Linked DNA regions of Homo sapiens: all the other regions are linked to region 2. The links are contacts of gene promoters, found by promoter capture Hi-C in human tissues and cell types (Jung and others, 2019). All regions are on one chromosome and are shown on one strand. Each heading gives the region's core, a stretch centred on a gene start or on the middle of the fragment in contact. The rest is flanking DNA. Distances are from core to core; before and after follow the strand shown.

Evidence for each region. The method cuts DNA at HindIII sites, captures the fragments that hold promoters and counts their contacts. A contact is called where the count stands out against the background at its distance.
Region 1: a fragment that was not itself captured here is called in contact with the fragment with the promoter of TPM1 in region 2 in 1 of the 25 tissues and cell types used here (IMR-90 fibroblasts).
Region 3: a fragment that was not itself captured here is called in contact with the fragment with the promoter of TPM1 in region 2 in 1 of the 25 tissues and cell types used here (mesenchymal stem cells).
Region 4: a contact is called between a fragment that was not itself captured here and the fragment with the promoter of TPM1 in region 2, in 2 of the 25 tissues and cell types used here (IMR-90 fibroblasts and mesenchymal stem cells).

The regions. Positions count from the first base shown.
Region 1 is chr15:62,435,091-62,442,115 of GRCh38, reverse strand. All of the region lies in intron 1 of TLN2 (talin 2), which reads right to left. Among named protein-coding and RNA genes, the nearest start is that of TLN2, 48 kb to the right of the region's middle. RefSeq lists a silencer at 2,252-2,546. The HindIII fragment of the contact is 4,060 bases long and covers 2,013-6,072 here.
Region 2 is chr15:63,037,634-63,043,996 of GRCh38, reverse strand. It overlaps TPM1 (tropomyosin 1), which reads right to left and starts at 1,250. Exons shown (of 10, transcript NM_001018005.2): 1 at 1,054-1,250. The coding sequence starts at 1,167. RefSeq lists enhancers at 1-478, 1,392-2,306. The HindIII fragment of the contact is 3,976 bases long and covers 188-4,163 here.
Region 3 is chr15:62,350,524-62,357,717 of GRCh38, reverse strand. No RefSeq gene overlaps it. Among named protein-coding and RNA genes, the nearest start is that of MIR6085, 11 kb to the right of the region's middle. RefSeq lists an enhancer at 6,330-6,830. The HindIII fragment of the contact is 5,273 bases long and covers 1,491-6,763 here.
Region 4 is chr15:62,408,182-62,414,567 of GRCh38, reverse strand. All of the region lies in intron 1 of TLN2 (talin 2), which reads right to left. Among named protein-coding and RNA genes, the nearest start is that of TLN2, 21 kb to the right of the region's middle. The HindIII fragment of the contact is 3,928 bases long and covers 1-3,865 here.

The DNA.
Region 1 (7,025 bases), core at 2,793-5,292, 600 kb after region 2:
TTGTGACCTGTGTTCTGACCAACAGGCTATACATCAGGGTTCCCATGACCCCATCCTTAGGTTCACTTAATTTGTTAGAACAACTCACAGCACTAAAGGAAACACTTCACTTACCTTTACCCTTTTATTATTAACAACATTACCAAGCATAAAGATGGACAGCCAGATAGAAGAGATGCTTAGGGCGAGGTATGAGGGAAGGGGTGTGAAGCTTCCATGCCCTCTAGGGGGGCACACCACCCGCCACAAACCTCCACGTGTTTATCCATCTGGAAGCTTGTCTGAACCCAGTCCTTCATGTTGTTAATAGAGGCCTCATTAAATAGGCATGACTGATCACATCATTGGCCATTGCTGATCAATTTAACCTCTGGCCCCTCTCCCTTTCCCAGCAGTGGGGACTGGCATCTGAAGTGGGCAATCTTGTGGGGCTAAACCCTCAACCTATGGGATCTGACCCTATATCTCCAGGTAGATGGTGTAAAAATTGAGTTAAATTAGAGGACATCCAGTTGCTGTCCACTGAAGAATCTGCCGGAGAATTGCTTTGTGTGGGGAACGTCCTCCCGCCCCAACAGACAATGGAGTCAGGATTGTTGAGTGACTGTGAAAGAGAGTAGGAAATAATATCTTGGTTTCTTCTATCTTTAGTTTACCTCAGTGTTTTCTGTTTACATGTATTCAGGGGTGGATTCACATGAAGCTCACACAAGTTAAAAAGCCAGGCATGGTTGCATGTGGCTGTACTCCCAGCTACTCAGGAGGCTGAAGCACAGACATCACGTGAGCCCAGGAGTTCGAGGCTGCAGTGAGCTATGATTGTGCCACTGCACTCCAGCCTGGGTGACAGAGCAAGACGGTGTCTCAAAAATATTAGATAAGTAAATAATACAAATGAGCACAGGGCCTTGGAAGGGATCCCTCCATGTGAGGGGCCCTAAAGCTAATCTTCATGACCAATCCATCTCTGCTTGTACTGGAACCACGTTACACTTACCCACATCTGACCCATCATTAGTTCGATGGATTTTCACTAGGAAATGAGCTTCATCAGGAAACGCTGTCCCAGAGCATGAATGTGAAGTGAGCAGGAGATGGATAAAGCACCTGATGAACCAGCTATGTATTATATACCAATGTGACTATAACCAGAACCTGGCTTTGTTTCCACAGGCCGTTTTCCAGGATAGAAATAGCCTGTTTTATAGACTGCTTCCTTCAGAGCAGTATTTGCTGTCACAGTCATTCGTGCTTTCAGTATTTGCTGAGCACCACACAGGGAGGATATAAAAAATGGTTGAAACTGCCTCAAGGAGCTAAACTTTTGAAGGGATAAGAGATGTACACTGGTATCACATGCTGCTTTCCATGACAGCTCTACTTTAGAAGGGAGGTATCAATCCTAAGTAAAAGTAGGACGGTCAATAATTCCTGCTGCGGGGATCCAGGAGGCCACAGCCAAGGGCAAGACAGGGATAGGGGTATAAGAGAACAGCAAGAGAGGTTGCCATGGAAACATTCACCAAAGCAGAGGAGGACAGTGAGGACAGTCAGCACCGTCCTCCCTGACGTTTGGCACAAACACCACCCCACCCGTTAGGTTAGGAGTCTATTACAGAAAAAATGCTCTGCCATTTGGTTGTATTTACCGATCTGCAGCCAGGACCGTGCTCTTGCCAAGTTCACAGTGCTGTTCTCCCAATGAATGAAACCTGTACCATATACTTAAGAAAGGAGAGGGGGAAGATATGTAAGAATTAGGGACAATTTGGTCTCTATCTCAATCTTAAATGCAAGGAGTTTAAAGAGGTAAGTCATACCATAAATCAATGTTTCAACTCAGCATTAATTAAATGCTAACATTAAGTTACATTCTCCCTCTGAGAGGCAGAAAGAATCAAGTTCGTGAGAGGCCCAAACTGAGACTTGAAAGACAGGAAGACCACGAGATCGAGGAGACAGGTTAGCCAAGGTATAAAACGAACCTGGGATAGACAGCAGTGTCCAGCACATGGCGGGTTCTTCATGAACATCTGTAAAATGAGTAAATACAAACGTGCCTAAACCAAGTAAATGAAGAGACCATCCAGGTTATCCTGCCCTGTCTAAAATCCAGTCACTGCCCTGGGAGTCCTGCCTTGCATGGTATCATCGCCCCTGTTTCAGCACAGGGAGTTCCTGTCCCTAGAAAAACCCTGACCCTGGTTAACCCAGAGACAGCTGAAATACAGAAACACCAAACATCTTCTTGCCCCTAATTAATGGCCTCTGACTGCAAGCCAAATCAACTTTCGAAATTGTAAGCTCACTGGAATGAAGGCCAAAAGTCTCAATGTTCACAAAGGACAATGCATACCCAAAGGGAAAAAGTCTAACACTAGTCAGAGGCTTTCACAATCAGAGAGTCACTGACTGGCCATTCACCAGAAATAAACATTTATTCTCACTGTGGGGCTTCCAGAGGCTGGTGGCATGCTGACCCAATCCATAAAAACTGGCTAAGATAGGCGCACGGTGGCTCACACCTGTAATCCAAGCACTTTGGGAGGCCAAGGCGGGCAGATCACCTGAGGTCAGGAGCTCGAGACCAGCCTGGCCAACATGACTAAACCCTGTCTCTACTAAAAATACAAAAATTAGCCGGGCGTGGTGGTGGGTACCTGTAGTCCCAGCTACTTGGGAGGCTGAGGCAGGATAATCACTTGAACCCAGGAGGCGGAGGGTGCAGTGAGCTGAGATCATGCCACTGCACTCCAGCCTGGGCAACAGAGCAAGACTCCATCTCAAAAAAAAACAACTGGCTCAGATAGGTCAAATGTTCTGTATCCCAGGATCAATCTATTAACAGGTTTTATCTAGGCTGACAAATAGGTTTTATCACATGTGACAACTCCAATCGATTGGCAGTGGCTGCCTTTCCTAGGGTACATAGTAAAGTGTCATAATCTTCTAGCGATGTCTGCCATGACAGCAAGAGAAAAAGTAATGGCACAGGGGTCAGGCATTTATTATCCTTGATCCTAATTATACTGTATACATATGCATAAACATATAATGCATATATTTACAACCACATATAATTATCTTTTTCCCTAATTAGCTTTTAAACAATAAAGAAAAGCCCTATTACAGATAGCAACATCTAAATCACAACCGTATTGTTAAATCCTAAGTACAAAAGAAACAGGAAATTAAGAGTAGGAAGTATGACTTTAATCCGAGTCCAGCATGTGCTAGCACAGCTGTTGCTAGAAGGATCCAACTGTTGAGGCCTGCTCAGCCAGGGGACCCTTCCCTCCCTAGGTCCTTGGGATCACCTGAGCATCTGTCCTGGTCCAGGCATATCATACACAGGGGAACTTGGCAGGGTGAAGAGGACTGACTCTGCAGAGTGCCATTTACTGGACAAGGCATTGTTCCAGGGGTTTTATATGGTCTCAGTAGCCTTGTGCTCATCCTTATTCTCAGGCTTGAACCTAAACATGAATGTTGGCCCCACCTACCTCCCTACTTCCCTCTTACACTTGCTACGCTGTAAACAACATGGGCTGACTGATTATGCACCGAACTGTATGGGATAAATAAATGCTGCAAGTGGTCAGAGGTAAGGAGATCACCAACTCCTTAATGTTTAAAGGTTGACATGTTTAGAATAAAATCTCAGCAGATAAAGGTGCACTTCCATCTACAGAGGGGAATGAGGCTGACTGGAATTTGGATAGGAAAGGACCTTTCAGATAGACTAAGCTTTACAGACAAGGCTGTCTTCAACTTAACAAGGATATGGCATATTTCCACAAGGGAGAAGTGTAATAGCCCCCACTCCCTTTAAACATTCTGCCAAATGTGCAAAAAGCAAGGATGTGATCTGGCTGCTCCCCAGTGCCCCTGTTTTCCCTTAAATAACCACTACTGGATTAGGCCATGTTGTGGACTTTCTAGAGCAGCAACTGATGGCTCTTTGCCAGACATCCTGGAAGTAAGTTTGACTACCTGACCAAGGCTGGCTTGTAATGGTTCTCTAAATGCTGTTTGGCCCTGAGCTCATCCCACTACATCCTCTCTAACACTTGCCTTCCCCAGTGAGCTCTTGGGGACCAGGGTGCATCTGCTGCCACCAGAGGCGAGAGTGGGAAAGGGGATGGTCCATAGATGTGTGGTGCTCCTCCTACACCCAGAAGTCTGTAAATCAATCCGTTGCATTGCCAGTTGTTGCATAAATGATTCATGACTATGTTAATCAATACATTTTTGCAGATGCTATTAACCCTGATCATTTCAAGGGGAAAATATAGCTCAGGATGCAGAGGCCACTGCACCAATTGGCAGACAGACAGACAGACACACACACACACACACACACCCCCATGGTGTTTTTTGAAAGTACCGTTTTACAGAGGAAAAAAGTAAACCTGACCTAAAACAGAGGCATCAGTATCCTGAGGCAAGGGCTAGGACTAGAAGCTCATGTCAGTAAGGAGAATGGCTCCAGATGACACACAGTACTATGATTATGACTCTTGCCCAAATGTACCTATACCAACAAACACCTAGGGGCAGGATGAAATAGCACCTTTCAGCCAGGTGTCATGTCTCACACCTATAATCTTCACAAGGCAGAGGGAGAAGGACTGCTTGGGGCCAGGAGTTCACGACCAGCCTGGGCAGCATTGTGAGATCCTGTGACTACAAAAAAAAAAAGGTCAGGTGTGGTGGCTCGCACTTATAGTCCCAGCTAGCTGACCTGGCCTCATGATCTCTCTCAGCAGCCACCACCAATCACCAGGAGATAAAACTAAAGATGAAACTTGTATGTGTCCCCCATAACTCCTAATACACTGCTATTGATGAATGTGCTCCTCAGAAAGGATTCCTAGACCTCTAGCAGGCTGTACACCAACATGGGAGACGCCCTCCTAAGAGCCCTTGATGGTATTTTTCCTCAAGTGGCTCATAATCAATGAGAGATGAAACAAAACTGTGCAAATGAAAGAAAGCCAAAGTGATTAAAAAGTCCATTGAACCAATGTGTTGGGAATTCTACTGAAATATTAGAGGATGTATACAAAAGAGAAATCATACAATTGGGTTGGGCACAGTGGCTCACGCCTTTAATCCCAACACTTTGGGAGGCCAAGGCGGGAGGATCACTTGGGGTTGGGAGTCTGAGACCATCCTGGGCAAAATAGTTAGTCCCTGTCTCTACAAAACAAAATTAAAAATTAGCCAGGCACGATGGTGCATGCATGCTTGTAGTCCCAGCTACTCAGAAGCCAAGGAAGGATGAGCCCTTGAATCCAGAAATTCGAGGCTGCAGTGAGCTATGATTGTGCTACTGCACTCCAGGCTGGGTGACAGAGTGAGACCCTGCCTCTAAAAAAAATAAATAAATAAAGAGAAATCAAAGAATCATGGAGCAAATAACCAAGCCATACACAACTCTTCAACAATTCAAACAACCTGATTCCTCCAAGTCCCTTGAGACCTCCTCTCATAGGCCTGCTCCAGCCACACTGGCCTTCACTGGTTTCTCAAACACATTGAGCTCCTGTCCACTGCAAGGCTTTCCCTAGGCAGCTTTCTCAATAGGGAAAGCTCTCTTCCTCCTCCTCCACTGACATCCTGCCACCTGCTCACGAAAGGCTGGCAAACTCCCACTCAGGTTATAGGGTTGGACACATTCCCTCAAGGAAGTCTTCCCTGATCGCCCTCTGCCTCACCCCAGGCCAGGGTAGAACACCAGGTCCTCCCGCACAGCACTCCCTGCAGTTGCCAAGGACTGTTAGTTTGAATTCCACCTAAGTGGAAGCCTGGCTATGCTTTCCATGAGCTCCTGAGCATAGGACAGATACGCACCACTGTATCCTTAACACACAGCACAGTGCCTGGAACTCAGAGGGAACGTGGAATCAATGAACTAATAGATCAATGGATGACTGAATAAATGATGAGGCAGACAACTGAATTAGAACTGCAGGTCAAACAGGAGGTTAGCAGGACATCTGTGATGCAGAAAGCAATGGGAAGTACGGAGAAATGTGTTTGTGACGTAAGTTTGAAACAAGTAGGCACAAGAAACATCCTGATAGAGTGGAGAAGGCAGGCAACAGTGATATCATGGAGCATGATACAAAATCCAAAATTCATAAAGATTAATAAATTTGACTACATAAAACAAATTTTGTGCAGTGAAAAAGCTAGTGACAAAGACAAAATGAGGGAAAGTATTCACAGCATGTGACAGATGCTAATTTCCATAATACATAAACAGCAAGGCCTGGCATGGTGGCTCACGCCTGTAATCCTAGCATTTTGGGAGGCCAAGGAGGGTGGATCACCTGAGGTCAGGAGTTCAAGACCACCCAGGCCAACATGGCAAAACCCCATCTCTACTAAAAATACAAAAATTAGCCAGGCAAGGTGGTAGGCGCCTGTAATCCCAGCTACTTGGGAGGCTAAGGCAAGAGAGTTGCTCGAACCCGGGAGGCAGAAGTTGCAGTGAGCCAAGATCGCGCCATCGCACTCCAGCCTGGGTGACAAGAGCAAAACTCCATTTCAAAAAAATAAATAAAAATAATTTTAAAAATCAAATACAAATCAATAAGAAAAAGACAACAACACAATAGACAAATAGACAGCAGACACAAAAAGTGAAGAGAAAAAGAAATAAAAATGACTTAAGCATATAAAGACAGTCAACTTCTGCGGAGAAAAATGAATGGTTTTACACTGTTGGTGGTAGTGTAAATTAGTTCAACCATCGCGGAAGATAGTGTGGCAATTCTGCAAAGATCTGGAGGCAGAAATACCATTTGACCCAGCAATCCCATTATTGAGTATATGCCCAAAGGAATATAAATCATTCTACTATAAAGATACATGCATGCGTATGTTCACTGCAGCACTATTCACAATAGCAAAGACACGGAATCAACCCAAATGCCCATCAATGATAGACTGGATAAAGAAAATGTGGAACATATACACCATGGAATACTATGCAGCCATAAAAAAGAACAAGATCT
Region 2 (6,363 bases), core at 1-2,500:
AGGGGGGTGCAGCAGGCAGCGTGATCCCGAAGGGGAGGGGTGTGGGTGCACAGAACCAGAAGGACAGGGACAGCGGGAGAGACAGAGGGAAAGACAGGGAGGGAGAGAGAGAAAGAGAAAGAGTTAGCCATTCGTGCGCCACGCCGTGCCGCGCGCCCCGGGTACCTTGGCGGCGGCCTCTTCGGCGGCCAGGAGGCTGTCCTCCGCCTTGTGCAGCTCCTCCAGCACCCGGTCCCGCTCGTCCTCCGACACCCGCAGCAACTTCTCCTTGGCCGCGATGTCCTCCTCGAGCTGGGGGCAGCGGCGGGCGGGCGCGGGCGGCCGGCACGGACCGGGTGTTAGACACACACAACACACGGGCGTCGGGTTGGCTGGGGCCCCTCGGGCTCGGGGCGCCGCCGAGTTGGAGTGCAAAGGACCCGAGGTAACTTCCTCTTTACCCGAGCTGGAACCGCTCCGCGGCTCACCCCGCACACCCACCTGCCCTGGGACGAGACTCCTGCCGAGGTCTCAGCGGGCTCAAGTCCACTACTTGGGGACACAGAAGAACGCCACTGCTGGCCTGGCTTTCGGGCTGTAGCCTCCATTCCGCCCCATCTTTGTTCTTAGGTAACAACTCCAGGACTCCCTTCTCCTCCCCAAGTTTAAGGTTCCTTTCTCCCCAGTCAAAAGTCAACGAACTTCTAACACTTGAGTTACTCGACCCCCTTTCTCCATCCCTCGCCCTTCCTTCAAACGTCCCCAGGAACCGGGTGTCCTCCTCCCTCCCCCAAACTGATTCCCAGTCCTGAGAATAAAGCGCCTCTAGGACTTGATTTCGCGGGCCATGGGAACCAGAGAAGGGAAATAAGCGTCCTCAGACCAGACTAAGTTAGACTAAGCCTGGCTCTTGCGTTTCCCTTCCTTCTTTCCAGACGCGCGCCCTGGCCGCCCTGGGTGGTGGTGGGGGTAGGGTGGTGGCTCCCCGAGTCCTCGGGGTGGGGATCCAGCCGGGGGTGCCAGGCTCGAGTCCCGGCGCTCTGGGCGCGGGCGCAGGGCCGGGGAGGCGCAGACCTGCTTGCTCCTGTCTTCCGCCGCCTTCTTGTCGGCCTCCGCCTGCTCAGCTCGATCCAAGGCGTTCTCCTTGTCGAGCTTCAGCATCTGCATCTTCTTCTTGATGGCGTCCATGGTGGCGGCGGCGAGGGGCCCTGGGGCTGCAGCAGGAGCGGCGGGGCGAGCGCGCGGTCGGGCGGAGGAGCGGGAGTGCGAGCGCGGAGCCGCCTGCTTCTCCCAGATATGTACTTTCCCAAGGGGGCGACCGCATTCCTCAAGACAGCCAATACTTTTTTGGAAAAGCTTTTTTCTCCTGCCCCCCTTCCTCCTCTCCTCCCTCCGCCCCGTGCCCCCTCCCCGCTCCTCCCGCGGGGGCCGCTCGCCCATTCGCTGCCGGCCGCCGGCCTCCCAGTTGACGGTGGATATGACTATATATGGGGACCCGAGCCGCCGAGGCGGCGGCCGGAGAGGCCGCCCTGTTTCTAAACCTGCGCGCCAGGGAGAGGGCGTTGGGGCCGAGCCGGGGCCGAGGCGCAACCCTCCGCCCTCCGCGTGCCCTTCTCCCAGGGCCGGCACCCAGCCATTAGGGTCCCCAACCGAGCCCGCCCTGAGCTGCCGGAGGCCGGGAGAGCGCGGACCAGGTGGTGGATGCGCGTCGCCCCCCTGTGCCGTCCCCCGGCGCGCTTAGCCAAAGGCCCGGGGGCTTCCCAGCCGTGCTGCACCCCGCGTCAGGGTCAGTGCGCTCTCGGCACCCGCCAGCGCCTCCCCGGCAGCTCTCAGCCAGCCAGGTGTCATCCTGCGCGCTCACGCTCTGGAAACTCAACTGCAGCAGAGAAAGGGAGAACGTGGGAGAAAGCCTGGGGCGGCTCTTGAGACTTTCTCTGCGGGCGCGGGTCAGAGAGGCAGGGGGCGGCACAGCGACAGCACACGGAGTCTTGTTTTCTGCCTGCCCTTTCCCCCAGCGGAGGGACAGTCAAATACTTTAGGGACACAGGACTCAGTGGCGTACTTCTGTGCTTGCTGTGCAGTGCCTCCAAAAAGGTGTGCATGTGTGCGTGTGTGTGCGGGTGGCAGTCTAAGGGGAAAGAACATTGAGTTTAGACTCAGGCAATTTGGTCTGTGGTCTCTACTCTGCCACCAGCAACTGTGAGACCTTGTTTGCTGCCCGCGGCTTCCTCAACTTTAAATCCAGCGGGTAGATAATCCCCGAGGTCCCTCCAGATATAACTTGTTATCATTTTTCTTGCACTGATTTTAGGGAGTCGGCCTTCCATGTTAGATGCTTAGGTGCCAGGTTTCGGAAAACATGGGATCGGCGTTAACCTGGCTAAGTCATTGCATCCGCAGCCGCAACTCTGAGGAGGCTCTGCCGTGTGAGCTGTGCTTGGAAGGAGGAGGATTTCCCCCAACACTTCTTATTTTTAACTACTCCTCCCATCTCCCAAGGGGGAAAGGCTGCTTTTTTTCAGAGCTTCAGTGGGAGGGGAGGAGAGGGGGCTGCCCCCAAGCCCTGAGATCAGCTGAGGCAGGGTTGGTGAGGGTCTTGTTAATAGTCCCCACAGAATAATTCACAGTCTGTACTGCATGGTTACCAAATATTCCCCGGACGGTATCTGAGCAGATTAGGCAGGCCAAACAACTTGTAAGTCCTTCAGAGAATGATCAAATTCCTCTCCAAGATTTTATCGGGTTTCTTCCACTAACCTAACTGCCCAGGAGGGAAAAGATACACTGACCTAATGGTCAGAACATTAGATCTGACCATTAGCATAGGGGCTGCGTGGCACAGAAATTGACCAGAGCCCTTTAATCACGGTGTGTCAACCCAGCCACCGGAACAGTGACAAAGTTCCAGGCATGTGGACGATATCCAGATGCGTGGACTCCAGGGAGCTGACTCCCCAGGTTGGAGCTCAGCAGAGGAGGCAAGAATAGGGAGTTAGGAGTCAGTTCCAGGGATCCAGACCTGGCCTGGTCACTTCCTTGCAGTGTGACCTTAGCCATGTTACAATCTCTCTAAGCCTTTTTTCTCACTTATAAAAAGAGGCAACTGAACTAGAGAAACTCCTTGCGGGACCACATGTTACTGACTTTTCTTTTCTTACTGTGCCATATGTAGCCGAGGGACTCATTAAAGTTTCCTTAAATGAAATCATGCTACAAGCAATTTATTAAACACACGGTTGTTGAGTACCTGCTATATACTAGGCAGGTACTAGGCTCTGGAATCCAAAGAATGAGTAGCACAGGTCTATGTCCTCCAGGTGTTTGGCATGAGAAAGGTGTTAAGAATTCACACGAGGAAGAAATAGAAATGACTAGGTCAGAGCAGATGGGAAAAAATTCTCTGAAAAGGTGATGGCTTTTAAACTGATTTTAAAGGAAGGGTAGCAGTTAGCTAGAGAGGAGGGCCGTTGTATGCGCCAAGGAAAGAAAAAGGAATGTTTGGTGGTGGTTGGACAGTAGGATTTTGGGGGTGAATGGGGGCATGAGACTGGAAAGGAAGCTTGGGGCTGTATGATAAAGGGCCTTGAATTCCAGATTCAGACATTCAGACCTTATTGTGTAGTTTAAAGCCATCGATGTCTCTTCTTTTCACCTCTTCCTCTCCCAGACTCCCTCACCTAGGGCCTATATTCAGAGGTCGAAGCCTATGGTGTCAAAGTATGGAAATGGAGCTATACAACGCTAACTTTTAAAATCCCTTAGTACCACATCATTGATCTCTAGACTGATGGGTTAACATAGCAGGTCCTGAATTCAATCATTTCTTTTAACCCATGTTGAGATTCTGCCATGTGTCAGGCCCAAGTCAGCTTCATGGGCTATACCACCCATGACCTTTTTGTCACCAAGGGCTAAGACAAAGCTAGGACAAGCAAAACGTCATGACTTAAATAACACATTCTTCTGTAGTGAACAGGTCTCCTGGTCCTCTCCAGAGGTAGGCTGGACAGTCACAGGCTGTATGTAGTGTGTATCCCTGTTCTCTGGCTGATTGGCCACAACTCAAGGATGGATCTAAATACTAACCAGGGACTTGGCGTTGTGGCTTGTCAGGCAATGATGAACTGGGCCACTCAGCTTCTTTCATTGCAGTTTGAATTAAGGAACGTGAAAAATGGGAATCACTAGCCGTGGCTGCTGAAACAAAAAGGGATTGCAGTGTCGGGCTGGAAATGCCACGTGTAAAAGTGATTAAGGTTATTCACAATTTTTTAGGTTTTCTCCCCAGTCAATGTCGTGGTAGCATTGTACATCCCACCCAATTAAGTTGGCTGTGGCCATTTGACTTGCTTTGGCCAAGGAAACGTGAGCAGAAATGACTTCTGGTGGATACTTAAAGAGCTCACGACTAACCATGTTCATTTTTCAAGACTGTGGCTGCTCTGTCATTGTGGGTTTTCAAGTGGCTCCCTCTTTCCCCCCAACTAACCCTTGGTGGACATGTAGTGAGAATAAGATATAAATCTTTGTTATTTTAGGCCACTGAGATTGGGGGTTGTTTGTTACTGAAGCATAACTAGCTTCTCCTGACTAATACAGCACAATAGGCATGCATCAGCTAAGTTATGAAAAAGCAGAGAAGTGATTATAGAGAAAGAATGAAGCAGGCATATCAAGATAAACAGAAGCACCATTTAGAGAAAGAGATTGGGAGAATATGACCAAATTTCAGTTCCAGGGGTCCTTATAATAACCCCCTGTATTTCTTGAGGTTACATAAGCGAGTCTATATTCCTTGAAAGTAAAAAGCTTACCAAATCATGGTGGCATGACAGCCTGCACAACATTCAACATTCTTGGCCTAGAGGCTCTACGTGATCACCACGAACATGCTTGGAATTTCCAGATTTCTCCAGTGCCTGGTATTCAGTCATTTCTCAATGAATGTTTGTTGAACAATTTTTTTTATGACTGACAAGTCCAGCTTTCTTACTGACTTACAAGAAAGTCTGGGAAGGTAAAGTAACAAATCTAGGTTCAAAAGATCTTGTTTCCATTCAAAATATGGGCTCTGTGTCTTATTTCATGAAGAATGAATATAAGTATTGTGATAGGGTAAGACAAATGTCTCCAAATATTTATTGGACACCTTTTGTGTGCAAGACATTTAGGGCTTATGGGATCCAGGGAAGCAGACAAAAGACATGGATCTTTTTCTGTAGGAAAAGTGTCTATGTATGATGCAGGGAGAACCCTCTCTTTGGGAGTCATTTAATATGTATTTCCCATGGCATGACCATCAGCTCAGTTGGTCACCTGGGGCCCTCTATAGTTATGAGGATCACATATCTCGGGTTTTCTAGGAAAGCTTTAATATTAAATATGCTGCCTTTTTCCTTCCATAAAACACTTGTATGTGTCATACTACATTTATCAATATTTGGTTACAAAGGAGAGTCAACATGAGCATCATTTCCCAATGTGACACCTTTAACAGGAATGCCCACTTGAATATGTACATCAGGGTTTGTTTGTTTGAAAAAACAAAATGAAAACCTCATTACCTGATAGTCACCCCTTGTTTAACAGCAATAGCCCTGCCGGTGTACTGTGACTCCCCCAGAGTCAACAGTGCTGACTGAAGCAATTAAGGGAAAGTGAAGAATCTATAATTAAATGGAGAGACGACTGCTTCTTCGTCTCTTTTGGAATGCAGCGTTTTATGCTCACGACTCAGTGTCCCTGGAACAAGATACGGCATGCTCTCCTCAAACACTGGGAGTTGTGTTTCCCAAGGGTTTGTGATGCTACCATCAAGGCCTCACAGAAAATATGCTATGCTTCCTGGGGGCGGGGGGTGGGGCTGGTTTGGATCTCTGAGAAAGGTCTTTAGGCCATTTTCAAGGCGTGCCTGCCTTTATTGTTTAGTAACACACAGCTGGTCCTGATTCTTTGGAGAGGCCCTTGAGCACGCTTATTACCTGGAATGTTTGCATGGGCAAAATGATTGTCCCAGTACAAAAAAAAAAAGGCATAGGAGTTTTCCTGCCTTACCTCTTATTGTCTGTCTCTCAACAGTAGCAACTCAGTGTAGATTTAATCAAGCTCCAAGTGTGGCAGATTTAGCTGTCTTAAGAAAGGCGATATTCCTTCATGTTTGTATAGTTTATAAAGCACTTTCAAGTTCATTACCTCCTCCTCCCAACCTCTTATGACAGCATCAGGATGAGTTCTCTGATTTTCACTCTGTACATGAGAAAACCAGGCCGAGCACAGTGGCTCATGCTTGTAATCCCAGCACTTTGGGAGGCCAAAGCAGGAGGATCACTTGAAGCCAGGAGGTCAAAACCAGCCTGGGCAAATTTGTAGAGCTTCCCCCCATCT
Region 3 (7,194 bases), core at 2,878-5,377, 690 kb after region 2:
TGGTTTGGAGTTCACATGGAGAGAAGCTGTAATTCCTCCCAGAGGGTGCTGACGCATTCCTCTACTATAATAACTGTTTTTAACTTGGATTCCACGGATGACTTTGGGATAGAGATTAATTCGTCAACGAAGGTGTATTTTCCATGTAAGGGATCTAAAGCTTTCATCAGATTCCTTTTTTTTTTTTTTTTTTTTTTTGAGACAGAGTTTTGCTTTTGTCCTCCAGGCTGGAGTACAATGGTATGATCTCGACTCACTGCAACTTCTGCCTCCCAGGTTCAAGCAATTCTCCTGCCTCAGCCTCCCAAGCAGCTGGGATTACAGGTGCCCGCCACCACGCCTGGCTAATTTCTGTATTTTTAGTAGAGATGGGGTTTCACCATATTGGCCGGGTTGGTCTTGAACTCCTGACCTCAGGTGATCCATCCTCCTCAGCCTCCCAAAGTGCTGGGATTACAGACGTGAGCTGCTGCGCCTGGCCTCATCAGATTCTTCAAGGGGTGTATGATCCCCCACCAAAGTTAAGAGTATCTACTACTAGAGACAGTCATCAGATAAGTTTCATTTTTCACTGAAGAGTGGTATTAAATCCTGCCAACTACACCAAAAAGAAAAAAGAAAGAAAGAAAAAAGAGTGGTGTTAGTCTTGGCAGAGGGCTTTTCCAAGGGTTTCTAAATTATTGCAGAATTTAAATAAATTATTTAGCCTCATCTATTAAATAAGGGTTAATAATGGCAACTCATGGGGTCGTTATGAGGATTAAATGTTAATATTTGCAAGCACTTAGAAAGTTGCTATCAGATCATAAGCCCTATTACATACATGTTTGTAAAGTAACACTAGTTCACGTGTTCCCTGCCTGCCCCAACCACAAGGAGAAAACCAAGCTCCGTAGTAAAGAGCAGAAGACTTTTGACAAGCAGCCAGACCTCCTGAATAATTTCTAACACAGAATCTTCCCTAGGCAGCATGCTATCCCTATCCAGAGATCAAAACGGATCTAGGTCATTTGAGGAAGTAGCCAGGCAAAGGATATTGAAGAGCTGCAGTAAAACGGAATGTTAATTATGCAGCTAGGAAGGACAATTTTTTATAGTAAAAAAAAAAAAGCAAATTATGTATAGACTAGATAGATACATACATACAAATGTGCATATGTATGTACCTATATGTGTATATCATATGTATAAGAAATTATTTAATTTTAAATTGAGGATTTTTTTTTCAACAGCAAGAGAAGGAGCTACCTGTAAACTAAAATACCTGAAAACTTACAGTTCAGGATGTGTAACCAGCAGGAATTACGATCACTTTTCTCTTTCCTCATCACCTCCCCTTGCCAAAAACTATGTATGTACACATAGACATAAATATATCATTTATTACTTATAGAATAATGCAATTGAATTATTTTGTCTAAAAGGCACTTTAAGTATTTCAGATGCTTTGAGGACTGTTGAAAAAGTGCATGTGCAAGTCGATCCCAGGTCCTATTGTTTTCTCCTTCCATCTCACCATTCAGTGTCATAGAGTCCCAGCCCTGCACTCACTAAGACTTAAGTGGGGGAATTAATTCAGTTCTGTCTCATTAAGTACTGAGCACAATGGCCAAGCGCAGTTGCTCATGCCTGTAATCCTAGCGTGCTTTGGGAGGCCGAGGGGGGCCGATTGGCTGAACCCAGGAGTTCGAGACCAGTCTGGGCAACGTGGTAAAACCCTGTCTCTACTAAAAATACAAAAATTAGCCGGGTGTGGTGACATGTGCCTCCAATCCCAGCTACTTGGGGGGCTGAGGCACAAGAACTGCTTGAACCTGGGAGGTGGAAGTTGCAGTGAGCCCAGATCGCGCCACTGCACTCCAGCCAGAGCGAAACCCTGTCTCTAAAACAACAACAACAACAACAACAACTAGTACTGAGCACAAGTATTGAGCATCTAGTCTGTGCCAGAAGCATGGCATAAAGCAAAGAGAAATCAAATGGAGTCTCTAGGCTCTGCCTCTGTCAGCTTGTCTGTAAAATAAGGTGCTTGAATTAGATGATTAATCTGTCTTTTCCTAGCTCTGACTTCTATGATATGAAGTAAAACCATGCAATCGTTTGTATCTAAAAATCTTCAGAACATTTACCAATAGGCTTCATGATCATCAAATTGCCACACAAATCTCATCACCTCTACTGTGGTCCCTCCAGTACTTGAATCGTTAGCAATGTATCATTAATGCTGATAATGCATCATTAATAATGACAGGTTATTTGTACGGTGTGTCGTAATACCAAGAACTCTTCATAACAACCATGGGCCAGAGAGCTCTGGCAGTCTCACCCTTGTTTTTACAGACAATGAAACTGAGACTGAGAAAGGTTGAAGGTGGCAGAATAAGGACTTGAACCCGTGTCTAACTTGTGGTCAGGGCTCTTTCCACCCCTACCACCACTGCACTTATGAAATGCTAGTGGGCATTGTCCCCACTGTGTGCCTACATCTTCCCTCCCATCCACATGAGCAGGGGCAGTCCTATACAATTTCTTTATTGCACTCGCAACATTGTGCCCACGGGGCACCTGCTTCACTCTGCACCCAGTGCAGGCCCCATCCCACATTTGCTTGGTAGGACTGGGAGCTGCTGTGGGGTGAATCAGGGCTCTGTGGCCCAGCCCAAGAGAAAGAAGTTTAATAGAGAGACCTAGGCACAGACCTCAGCTGCCTGCCCTGGCAGAGGCACTCCCCAGGGCAGAAACACAAACCCAGAGTTCTTTGTCCATCTTATCCCAGCATCAGCAGGCCCTGAATTGTTCATTGAAGTTCCTTGAAGGAAGCTTGCTGTCAATTAGACTTGTTCCGTTTAAGGTTTTGATCTCAACAAAAATGAGTGGGTCATTTCAGTGCTTCTGTGAGTGACTCTGAGAGACCTGCAGCCACGGCTGCTGGCCAGCCGGCCTCAGCCGTACAGAGCATGCTTTCACGTTGACCTGCCTGAGGCCAGCCCTCGTGGAATGTTTCCAATAGTAATGATAAAAAATGTGCTTGAGCTTAGGTGGCATTGGGAATATTTTTCAAAGCACAGTCACATTCAAACAAACGCTGGGGCAGGCATGACCGACTCCTTTATAACCTAGGAAAGAGAGATTAGCTATGGTGAATTGGGTCCATGCAGCTATTAAGTTGCAAAGTTGAGACAGGAATGCAGATCTTCCATACCCAGCCGTGTGATCTCTGCATTCTACGAGGCTTCCACCACCCTGTAGAGCTGGTTAGGTTTATCTTGGAGACTCTCTCTCCTGCTCCAGGTTCCAGAGCTTTTCAAGAGTCAGAGGGCCAGGCGTGGTGGCTCACGCCACCAGCACTTTGGGAGGCTGGGGCGGGCAGATCACCTGAAGTCAGGAGTTTGAGACCAGCCTGGCCAACATGGTGAAACCCCGTCTCTACTAAAAATGCAAAAATTAGCCGACGGGTGCCTATAATCTCAGCTAATTGGGAGGCTGAGGCACGAGAATCACTTGAACCCAGGAGGCGGAAGTTGCAGTGAGCTGAGATGGAGCCACTGCACTTCAGCCTGGGCGACAAGAGTGAAACTCCATCTCAAAAACAAAAAAAAAAAAAAGAAAAAGGAAAAGAGTCAGAGAACCCCTACCTCATCATGAAGCTGAGTCCTGCCTTCCCCTGGTGAATGGCATGAGTTCTGAAGTCGCCCTCTTCTTCTCCATCCACCTCATGAAACCTCTTACTGTCTTTCTAAACAGATCACGGCTCCAAGGGAAAAGCAATGGGATTACACGTATTTGCACACAGATGTGAACTGATGAAAGTTAACATATTTGTCAGGAATACTTGTGGAATCCCAAAACATAGGACTCTCTAAGGGTGAAATTTCAAGAGCTATTTGTAAGCACACAAAATGCACTGTAAGGTGTCTGTTTACTCCTTAAATTCTGTTCTAGATCCCCTACACAGCATGGAGGTTTGGTGTGGCTGGGGAGAGCAGATGCTCAGGCCCAGAGCATCTTTGCAGTTCTGAGCCCATGAGCAGTGACAGTAAGAAAAGTGGGCAGATAGAATGCAAAAGAGCTGTGCCCAATTCAAGTACAGACAATGGATTACCCCATGTGACACGGCTGCTGAGAACAAAGTCAGGTTCATGACACCACAGACCCATTCCTGACGATGAGCCCAAGACCCTCCGTGTTCCCAAGGTCATCCTAGAACCATTAAACTGGGTTCCCAGCACTGTGAGGCCACAAAGCTCCAGATCAGCCATTCTTTTGCCACCTTCACTCCTCACCCCTGCTTGTTCTGGAAGCCCAGGTGCACTTCCGCAACAAGGGAGCACTAAATAATCCACCCCGAGACTCTGGGGCTGTGCCCGGCTGCCGACTTTTCCACAGGAACCTTGGGGCTCATCGGTTTATAGATTTCCCCAATCAAAAAACAAAGAATCTCAGCTACCTCTCCTTTCCATCTACCGTTGTTACACATCTCTCTAGACTGTCTCTGAATCTCCTACTTCCTTCCCTGCTGTGATTGAAGTGGGCACTTTAGAAGCAGACTCATTTTCTCTCCTATCTGCTCTGGGCTTTCAGCTTCATGCAGCAGTGCTCCCCCAAAGCCCAGCTATTCCCTTTCTCCCTAAGAGTCCCTCCATTAATGCCCCATCAGGAACCCCTGCTGCTAGCAAGAGGAGCAGGAATGCTAACCTTAGCTGGGCACTGATCACAGCTCAGGCTCCGTGCTAAGTGCTTGCCTTGCATTTTCTCATTTAATCCCAACAAATGAATGATCCGAGTGCTAGTTCTGTGTGTGTGTGTGTGTGTGTGTGTGTGTGTATGAGTGCCAATTTTACAAGTGGGGAAACTGACGCACAGGCAGGGGAAGTAATTTGCCCAAGATCACATGGTTGGATCGTGGAGGAATTGGGGTGTTCTTGCTAATACAAACAAGCTTCAGGGAATAGCCTTGTGCTTTTAACTTTGGAAGCTCTAGAATAAATTCCTTGAAGGGGAATGATGCGGTCAAACAGACAGCACAATTAACATTTTAGATAAATCTTTCCAAATTGTCCCCCAAAATGGTTTTCTACATTATACTTCCATCAACTATGTATGAGAATGCCAGTTGTATCCTTGCCATTACTGGATATTTTCAATTTTGTATCCCATTCCGATACATAAGGACTTTGTTTTCATTTTCATTCTTTAGTTACTGGTGAGGAGGAGCACATGTTCATGTTTATTGGCCCGTTATAGTTTTCTGCCCAGATATAAATGTTAATAATACAAAACAACTCATTTTCTCCCCAGAATCCACATTTCCTTTATTCCCTGTCAGGATCACCCACTAGTTACCCAAAACAGAAATCCAGGAACAGACTTTGGGTCTTCCTTCTGCTCTTCTTTCTCTCTTTTCTTTCTTTTTTTTTTTTTTTTTGAGATGGAGTCTTGCTCTGTCACCCAGGCTGGAGTGCAGTCTTGGCTCATTGCAACCTCCACCTCCTGAGTTCAAGTGATTCTCTTGCCTCAGCCTCCTGAATAGCTGGGATTATAGGTATGTGTCACCATACCTGGCAAATTTTTGTATTTTTAGTAGAGACAAGGTTTCACTATGTTGGCCAGGCTGGTCTCGAACTCCTGACCTCAGGTGATTCACCCACCTCGGCCTCCCAAAGTGCTGGGATTACAGGCATGAGCCACTACCCCTGGCCTCTTTCTGCTCTTCTTTCTACAGCTAGTCAGTCTTGACTGCCTCTTATATGCTTCTGGGATCAACTCCATACTGTCCCCATGACCCCCTGGATGGTGCAGGCTGTCATCACCATTCTCAGAACAGTCCTTGGGGGATGCTGCTGAGGTAGCTACTGCACAGGCCTTGTCTTGTTTTATTCTCAATAACCTTAGAGTGGGTGCTGTTATCCCCATTGTCCACTGCGTGTTCCACATCATGAGGGAGGATCACTTCCTCCACCCCCTTCTCTGCTGCTCCAATGGCTTCCTCTCCTTGTCTTCTTGTCCCCATGTCTAAAGCTTTCACCTTCTGAGGAAGACCACAGGCCTGCTTCCAGCCTGCCTGGCCCCAAAGAAGGCCCTGCCAGGTCAGAGAGCCCACGGACAGGCCATGTGGTTCAGAAGCTGAGACGGTGAACCCTGACTGACCAGCTTTCTTGCTCTTTCTAAAGCGGGCTTGCCCTCTTCTCCTTTTCCCGGTATCTGCTCACATCTCCCTTTTCTTTACCCTCACTCCCGTTTCTACTCTTATTTTCTCTGTGGCTCTTACTCAATAGGCTTTCTTCCCCTGTGTTTTCCCATTTGTTTCTCTGTCAGCCTTTTATTTTTTCCAGACGGAGTCTCACTCTGTGGTCCAGGCTGGAGTGAAGTGGTATGATCTCAGCTCACTGAGACCTCCGCCTTCCAGGTTCAAGCGATTCTCCTGCCTCAGCCTCCCAAGTAGCTGGGCTTACAGGCACCCGCCACCACGCCCGGCTAATTTTTGTATTTTTAGTAGAGACGGAGTTTCACCATGTTGGCTAGACTGGTCTCGAACTCCTGACCTCAGGTGATCTGCCTGCCTTGGCCTCCCAAAGTGCTGGGATTACAGGCGTGAGCCATCGTGTCCGGCCTCCCATCAGTCTTTTCTAGTCCCACTCATTTAATTGCCTTTTTGTTTCCTTGCAGGGTGAATAGGATCTCAGGGCCCCAAGAAGGAAGCAATAGGGAAAGGCACCGCCTGATCCTCCACTGCAGGCAGAAAACAACTTCTGCTTTCTCTTGCTGCCTCTCGGGGTCAGCATGCAAACCTAGGTGGGGTCCGCCCCGCCGCAGACCCTTGCCCACCGGCCCTAAGGCTGGCCATTACCGTCACGTGGGCCCTCTAATCCGCAGAAGTCAGAGTTCTCACCCAGAACTGCCATGATCCTCTCCCTGCTCATGCGATTTCCTTGTGGCCGTTCTCGGCCCCACTCCTGAAATCAGGAAAAGGATCTTTGCCTCTGAGCGTCAGAAGGGGAGGAGTCCGGTGGAGCCTAGTGAACCAGCACCATCTATGCTTTAGAATCTTTGGTGATTCTGACAATTCGAGTTCTCCATGGATGACAATATCTGTGGCCCAGTAAACCGGTTTAGAAAAACTTCATTAGCTCCCTGCCGCAGGGGAGCAAAGGGCCAGTCTGCACCTCAGGTTCACCCCACTGTGCTGTTGAGGCA
Region 4 (6,386 bases), core at 652-3,151, 630 kb after region 2:
TTGTTAAAACAACGGTTCCTGAGCCCCAGCCCAGAGCGTATGGTTCAGTAGTTTGGGGGTGAGGTTGGAGAATTTGCATTTGTAGTAAGTTCCCAGGTGATACTGCTGCTGCCACTGGTCCTGGACTACACTTTGAGGAGCCTGCTGAACACAGCACCTCAGCCTCTACTTGAAGGACAAACTAGCTTCTTACTGGATTCAGTGGCAAGATTAAGCCCACTGGTTCTCAAACACAATCCCCTTGGAACACCAGTGCTCTACCACTGAAATCAAAGCATAGGCTCACTCTCCTCCCCCACATTCTCAAATCAAATTAAACCTCAAGCACCACTTACTTGTTCCTACTATCATCTAAAAGGATTTAATTTCTCAAATTATATATATATATATATATATATATATAGTTTTTTTTTTTGCTAACACTTCACTGAGTTCAACCAATATGACATGTGATTATGAAGTTGTAATGGCCCAGCTGCCACAGCCAAAACCACATGGAAAGACACCAAAATTCAGTGCACTTGGCCTCTAGCTCAAGTTCAACTTCCCAAGGCAATCTCCCTTGACCACTGCAGCCAGATGGCTCCAATCATTTACCATACCCTCAGACTGCCAGATAAATAAAGGGCTTGGTTCCTGCCTTCAAAACTCAATCTAGGGGACAAAAATAAAATAGGCATACACATTAAACCATTTTTAACCAAGACAATGTGTAATCTATTGCTGAACTGTGCAACATAAATGTCAAAGGCTTCAGATTTTCTGCACAAGCAATCTGGTGTTTCATCACAGAAAATGCCTCTATCCACCCCATGCCTCTGCACTGGAGCCCTTTCAGATCCCCTACTCATGCTACAAGAATCGCTGTAAAGTTTCAGCCTTTCTACAATTTAATTTTAAAAACTTAATGTGCACCTGTCCCTGCAGACCTTGGCAATAGCATATAAATTCACGCCATGACTTTGAACACAAACATCCTGCCACTTACAGTGCAGAGGTTTTCCCTGTTCTGTGTTCCGTAGGTCGCTCTATCTGGCGCGTCAAGCCAAGAGAAACAGCCGGGTATAGCATCCCCAACAATAGGGATATTTACTGGCTTGAGATTTTTCTTTCCTGATCTTTATGCCTTGTACACTTCAGATGGACTAGCAATAAAACTCACTATGTTAGCTTGGGGGTGGGGGCAGGGCCAGCACATCTGGATCCAATCATTGTAATTTTACATTCTTAGCATCTTCCAAGGCAGCAGAGCACAAGGGGCAGTGCATGGACTAAATAAGATCCCTGGATTCTGATCAGGCTTTATATCTAACCCCATGTGTCACCTTGGGCAGGGCACTAACCTCATGAGGGCTCAGTTTGCTAAAGAGTCTTCCAAGGCCAGGATACCAGTGCTAACTAGCAACACAATTCAAGTGTTGATGAACTTATAATGACTTTCCCTTTTCCACTTGATTTTACCTGCAAAGATTTCAATTCTCCCTGGAGGAGACATTGGCATTGTTCATTTTTCTCGAGGGCACATCGCTCCCTCTTCCCCTCCTCCCTATCCTCCACTCTCCCAAGCCTTGCAGTCTCTCCACTTCTCTAGTTCAGCTTCTCCAAACAGGGGCTGTGATGAGAAAGAGCCCCCAGGAGAGTTTCCCAAATTGGCACTGAGTTCTCTCCAACTAATGTCTAGCACAGCAGGCCTTTAGTTCCTCAAATAAGCTTCTAATTGTCTTTTCAGAAATGTGCACGGACGCTTATTTCAAGCCATTTGGCAAGTGCCTCGCAGGGTATTTCCTCTGACATTGTGCTTAGAGAAGGAGGATTTAAGAGTCTAGGGGAGCATTAGAAAAACTGTACTCCATCTGATCCTGCCCTTGGACAAAAATATAACAACTTTTTCAAGGACCCACTGCTGGTATGATGTAAACCTCCACAGGTCTTCAAGAACTCAAAGTTGCTGACTCTTACATTTGAATGTAAGTCTTTACCCAGGGACAGGAAGAAGGTGTCCTGACAGAGTTAATGGATGCCAAGAATTGTGACACATTTGGGTGGTCCCAGTCGTGCCAAAAAACACATGCTCCTGTCTCCCTGGGCATCATTCTTCCAGGGTCAACATTAACAGAAGGACAGCTAGCACCCTGCCATCAGAGATGATGAAAGACCACAGGTTCAAGAGGATTTGAGTAGAGCACTCAATTTGGAGCCAGAAACTTGAGTTCAAATCCCAGACCTCCGTCTCTTCCAATTCCTCAAAAAGGTTATCAGCCCTTGTTACCACCACCTTACTGGTTTCAAATGTTGACAGGTGTCCCAGTCCTCTAGGCAAGCCTTTCCCCAAATTTAGTATGCATGCAAGTTCACCTCGGGATCTGATTAACATGAAGATTCTAAGTCCGTAGGTCTGGATTAACTTAAGATTCTGCATTTCCAACAAGTTTCCAGGTGATGCTGAAATTGCTGGTCCACAGACCGATTTTAAATCGCAGGGACAAAGAGACTTATGATCTAACCCAGTGTTTCCCAAAAGTCCCTGGTAAGAATTACATGGGCTAACTGTTAAATACGCCAGAGCATGCCCAGCGAGCTGTGTAAATTTACTTTGAGTTAGTACTCAGATGAATCTTATCATCAGAGAAGTCTGGGAAACCCTGAACTAGTTCATCCACATCCCTCTTCTAAAGTTCCCACACAACCCGTGGGTCCCCTTGTCTCCTTTCCATTTTTCTCTTTAGTTAACTTAAAATCTAACAGCCTAGCCCCTGCTTCTAGGGCCCCCATTTTGAGAGATGAATAATCTCCCAAACTTTTCCAAGTTCTGGCGTACTTGAAAAATTACCATGTCAGTAGGGCCTAAGTCCTGGCAGCCCCAGAGGAATGGAGAGAAGACTAAAGGCATCATTCACTATCTCAGCTCACCTGTTAGCATAATTCAGCTCCCTGACTAGAAAGCTCTGCTCCAACCTCAACCTCAATGGGCAAAACCCTGCAGAGCCCTCCAATATATCTCCCCATTGTTAAGATGACCCAAAAGAAAAAAAAATATATCAAACTTCTATCCTGAGGTTGCCTACAAGGGCCAATGCAGCATGGGAACAAAACACACACACACACACACACACACACACACACACACACACACACACATCCATTACTCACACTCTCTAAGGAGGAATAACATCTAATTACCATGTGCCCAGGAGCATGAACTATCTGTTTTACATCCATCATCTACTAAATCCTTGCAATAACTTCATTACTTGGGGATGATATACACGTTTTACTCATGAGGACACTAAGGCTTACAGTGGTTAGGTGACTTGTCCAAGGTCACACTAAATTATGGCCACTATGCGGTGGGTTCCCACATCAGCATGTTTGTGACCTTTGCAGCATTCATCCCTCTTTGGTTTGTTTTAATGCCTCGGTCCACACATACGCTTCCAGACTGTGCTATCCATGAGGGCAGGGCTCAGGTCTGTTTTGTTTCAGGCTGTATCCACCATGCACTTGGTAGACACCCAGAAAAAGATGTGCCAAACTGATGAATGACTCCAAAGCCAGGGCTCTTCTACAAGAATAGGCTGCTTCCACAACCACAGCAAGCACATGGATGTACCCTGGTTTAAAAGACTCCCAAACTATAAAACACGAATTTACAAGATACACTATGCGTTGGAGAATGCACAGTGGAAGGGCACTGGCCTAGGAGTCAGAAGACCAAAGGACTCTTCTCCCACTTACGCTACCTTATCACCGTACTTGAACAAGCCCCTTCGCTCTCTGCACCTCGGCTTCTTCATCAATCTGATGGTTTAATTCATCCCCCAAACCTCTGTGAACTCCCACATGTGCCAGATGTGGTTCTAAGAAAGAAATGACTAAGAGTAATGGATAAGAGGCTGCGCCCATCCCTCAGTAGCCCTGCACCAATTCCACTCCACCCAGCCCACTAAGCACTAACGGAGAGAATGCACAAAGAACAGTTTTCAAACAAGTATGAAACAGAGAGGGTCCTTGAGGGAATACATGCTTCACAAAAGGAATCTTTACTTTGCAAACTAATTCACAAAAAGCATGGCTAAAGTGACAAGTTCCTCTGATACCTTTTTTTTAAAATCAGGTTTATTAAAGTATAATTACGTAAAGTAAAATTCATCCTTTTTAGGGATACAGTTCTATAAATTTTGACAAATGCCTGTAAATCTTGCTGCAGTTTTTACTTTATTTATCTCTAACTTTTCAAGAATACATTATATAAAATGATGTGAGTATATATGACCCAAAGACACAAAATTAACTTTAGCTCCCTTTTTTTTTTCTTTTTTTCTTTTTGAGATGGAGTCTCGCTCTGTCACCCAAGGTGGAGTGCAATGGCGTGATCTCAGCTCAGTGCAACCTCCGTCTCCCGGGTTCAAGCAATTCTCCCGCCTCAGCCTCCTGAGTAGCTGGGATTACAGGCGCACACCACCACGCCCGGCTAATTTTTGTATTTTTAGTAGAGACGGGGTTTTACCATGTTGGTCAGGCTGGTCTTGAACTCCTGACCTCGTGATCCACCCGCCTCGGCCTCCCAAAGTACTGGGATCACAGGCGTGAGCCACTGCACCCGGACCTAGCTCCCATTTCTAAAAATAAAGGTTCCTCATTTTCCCAGAAGGAAGAACATAGAACTAAAAATCTTGTCTTTAGGGGGAAAAAATTCATTTGTGGAAACATCTGCAAAGCACAGAACTTAGAATACCAAGATCTATTACACTGGTCAAGAAAACTGAATCTCTTCTATTAATAAAGTATCTCCTCCCAACCCTCCCCCTCCCATATGAAAGCATTTACCAATTTTTGAAATATGCATGCAGAGTCCAAGAATATACATATATTTCAACCATGGTCATTCCTAACTACCTGTGCAGTTTAAAACCACAAAGCCTCCTTGAATTAACTCCAAAAATCTAAAATATATTTCACATACTATTAATGCTCCAAAGGAATTTACTTTGACAATGAATGTAACTTTTTAAAAGGCTATCTTAAAATGAATTGCATGAGCTTTTATAAAAAATGAGAAGGGGAATGGTTATTCAAATAGAAAGCTAACAATCTATTAAGATTACATCTCTGTTGCAGAATGAGACCCTGCAACAGCCAGAAAAAAATGGAAACAAATGCCAATATAAACAATCTAACAGTATTTATAACCCTACTGTGTGACTGGCTTCTGGTAAAAAGCAGGACTGATTTCCAAACCCTAGTTCAGTGACATTTAAACTTCAGTATACCTAAGGATATTTTGATTATAAAAACTACAAGGCACAGTGGCTGACACCTGTAATCCCAGCTCTTTGGGAGGCTGAGGCAGGCGGAAGGCTTGAGCTCAGGAGTTAGAGACTGGCCATAAGCGACATGGCCAGTCTCTACAAAAAAAAATCCCCAACAGTCAGTCATGGTGGTGCCACCTGTGGTCCCAGCTACTTAGGAGGCTGAAGCAGGAGAGTCGCTTGAACCTGGAGGGCAGAGGTTACAGTGAGCAGAGATCACACCACTGCATTCCAGCCTGGGAGACAGAGTGAGACCCTGTACCCCCCAAAAAATAAATAAATAAATAAGTAAAAATAAGGGCCAGGCATGCTGGCTGTCACCTGTAATCCCAGCACTTTGGGAGGCCGAGGCAGGAGGATTGTTTGAGCTCAGGAGTTCAAGAACAGCCTGGGCAACAAAGCAAGACCTAGTCTCTACAAATTAAAAAAAAGAAAAAGAAGAAGAAGAAAAGAAAACAACAAATTCTTGGACCATACAATTAATTTGGACTACCAAATTAAAATCTCCAGGTATTGGGCAGTTACAATACTTAACCTTAATCACAGGTAATACTGATGGTGGTGATCCAAAGACTACACTCTAAGAAACATAACCCTTAGCTAAGAAACCATGTATTTTACTATATAATCACTACAATAAAGTTAATATGGTGAAATAATTTGGATATTGGTCCTGAACATGGGTTAGAATCTACAGGCTAGTGGCCAAAGCTTATAAATAGTTTCATTATTCAGAGAGACGGTCATTGTAGTATCAAAAGCTGAACTATACAGTGACAATATTGCATTAATATTGGGCTGCTTGCTCTAAGTGTGGTCCTCTGACCAGCAGCTCAGAATTTTGGGGGCCCATCTTAGACTTGCTAAAAGAAAATCTCTGGGGCTGGGGCCCAGGCAGCCCTGTTTTAAAAAATTTATTCAGGTGTTTCTTCTGCACTGTGCATGCTCGAACACACTTTAGTTAATACAAGCACATTTTATAACAATAACAATAAATACTTAATAATCACATTTTTTTCTTGCCTTGTTTTGATAAGGCACACAGTGACTTATCTAAGGCCACACCCTCTCAGTTTA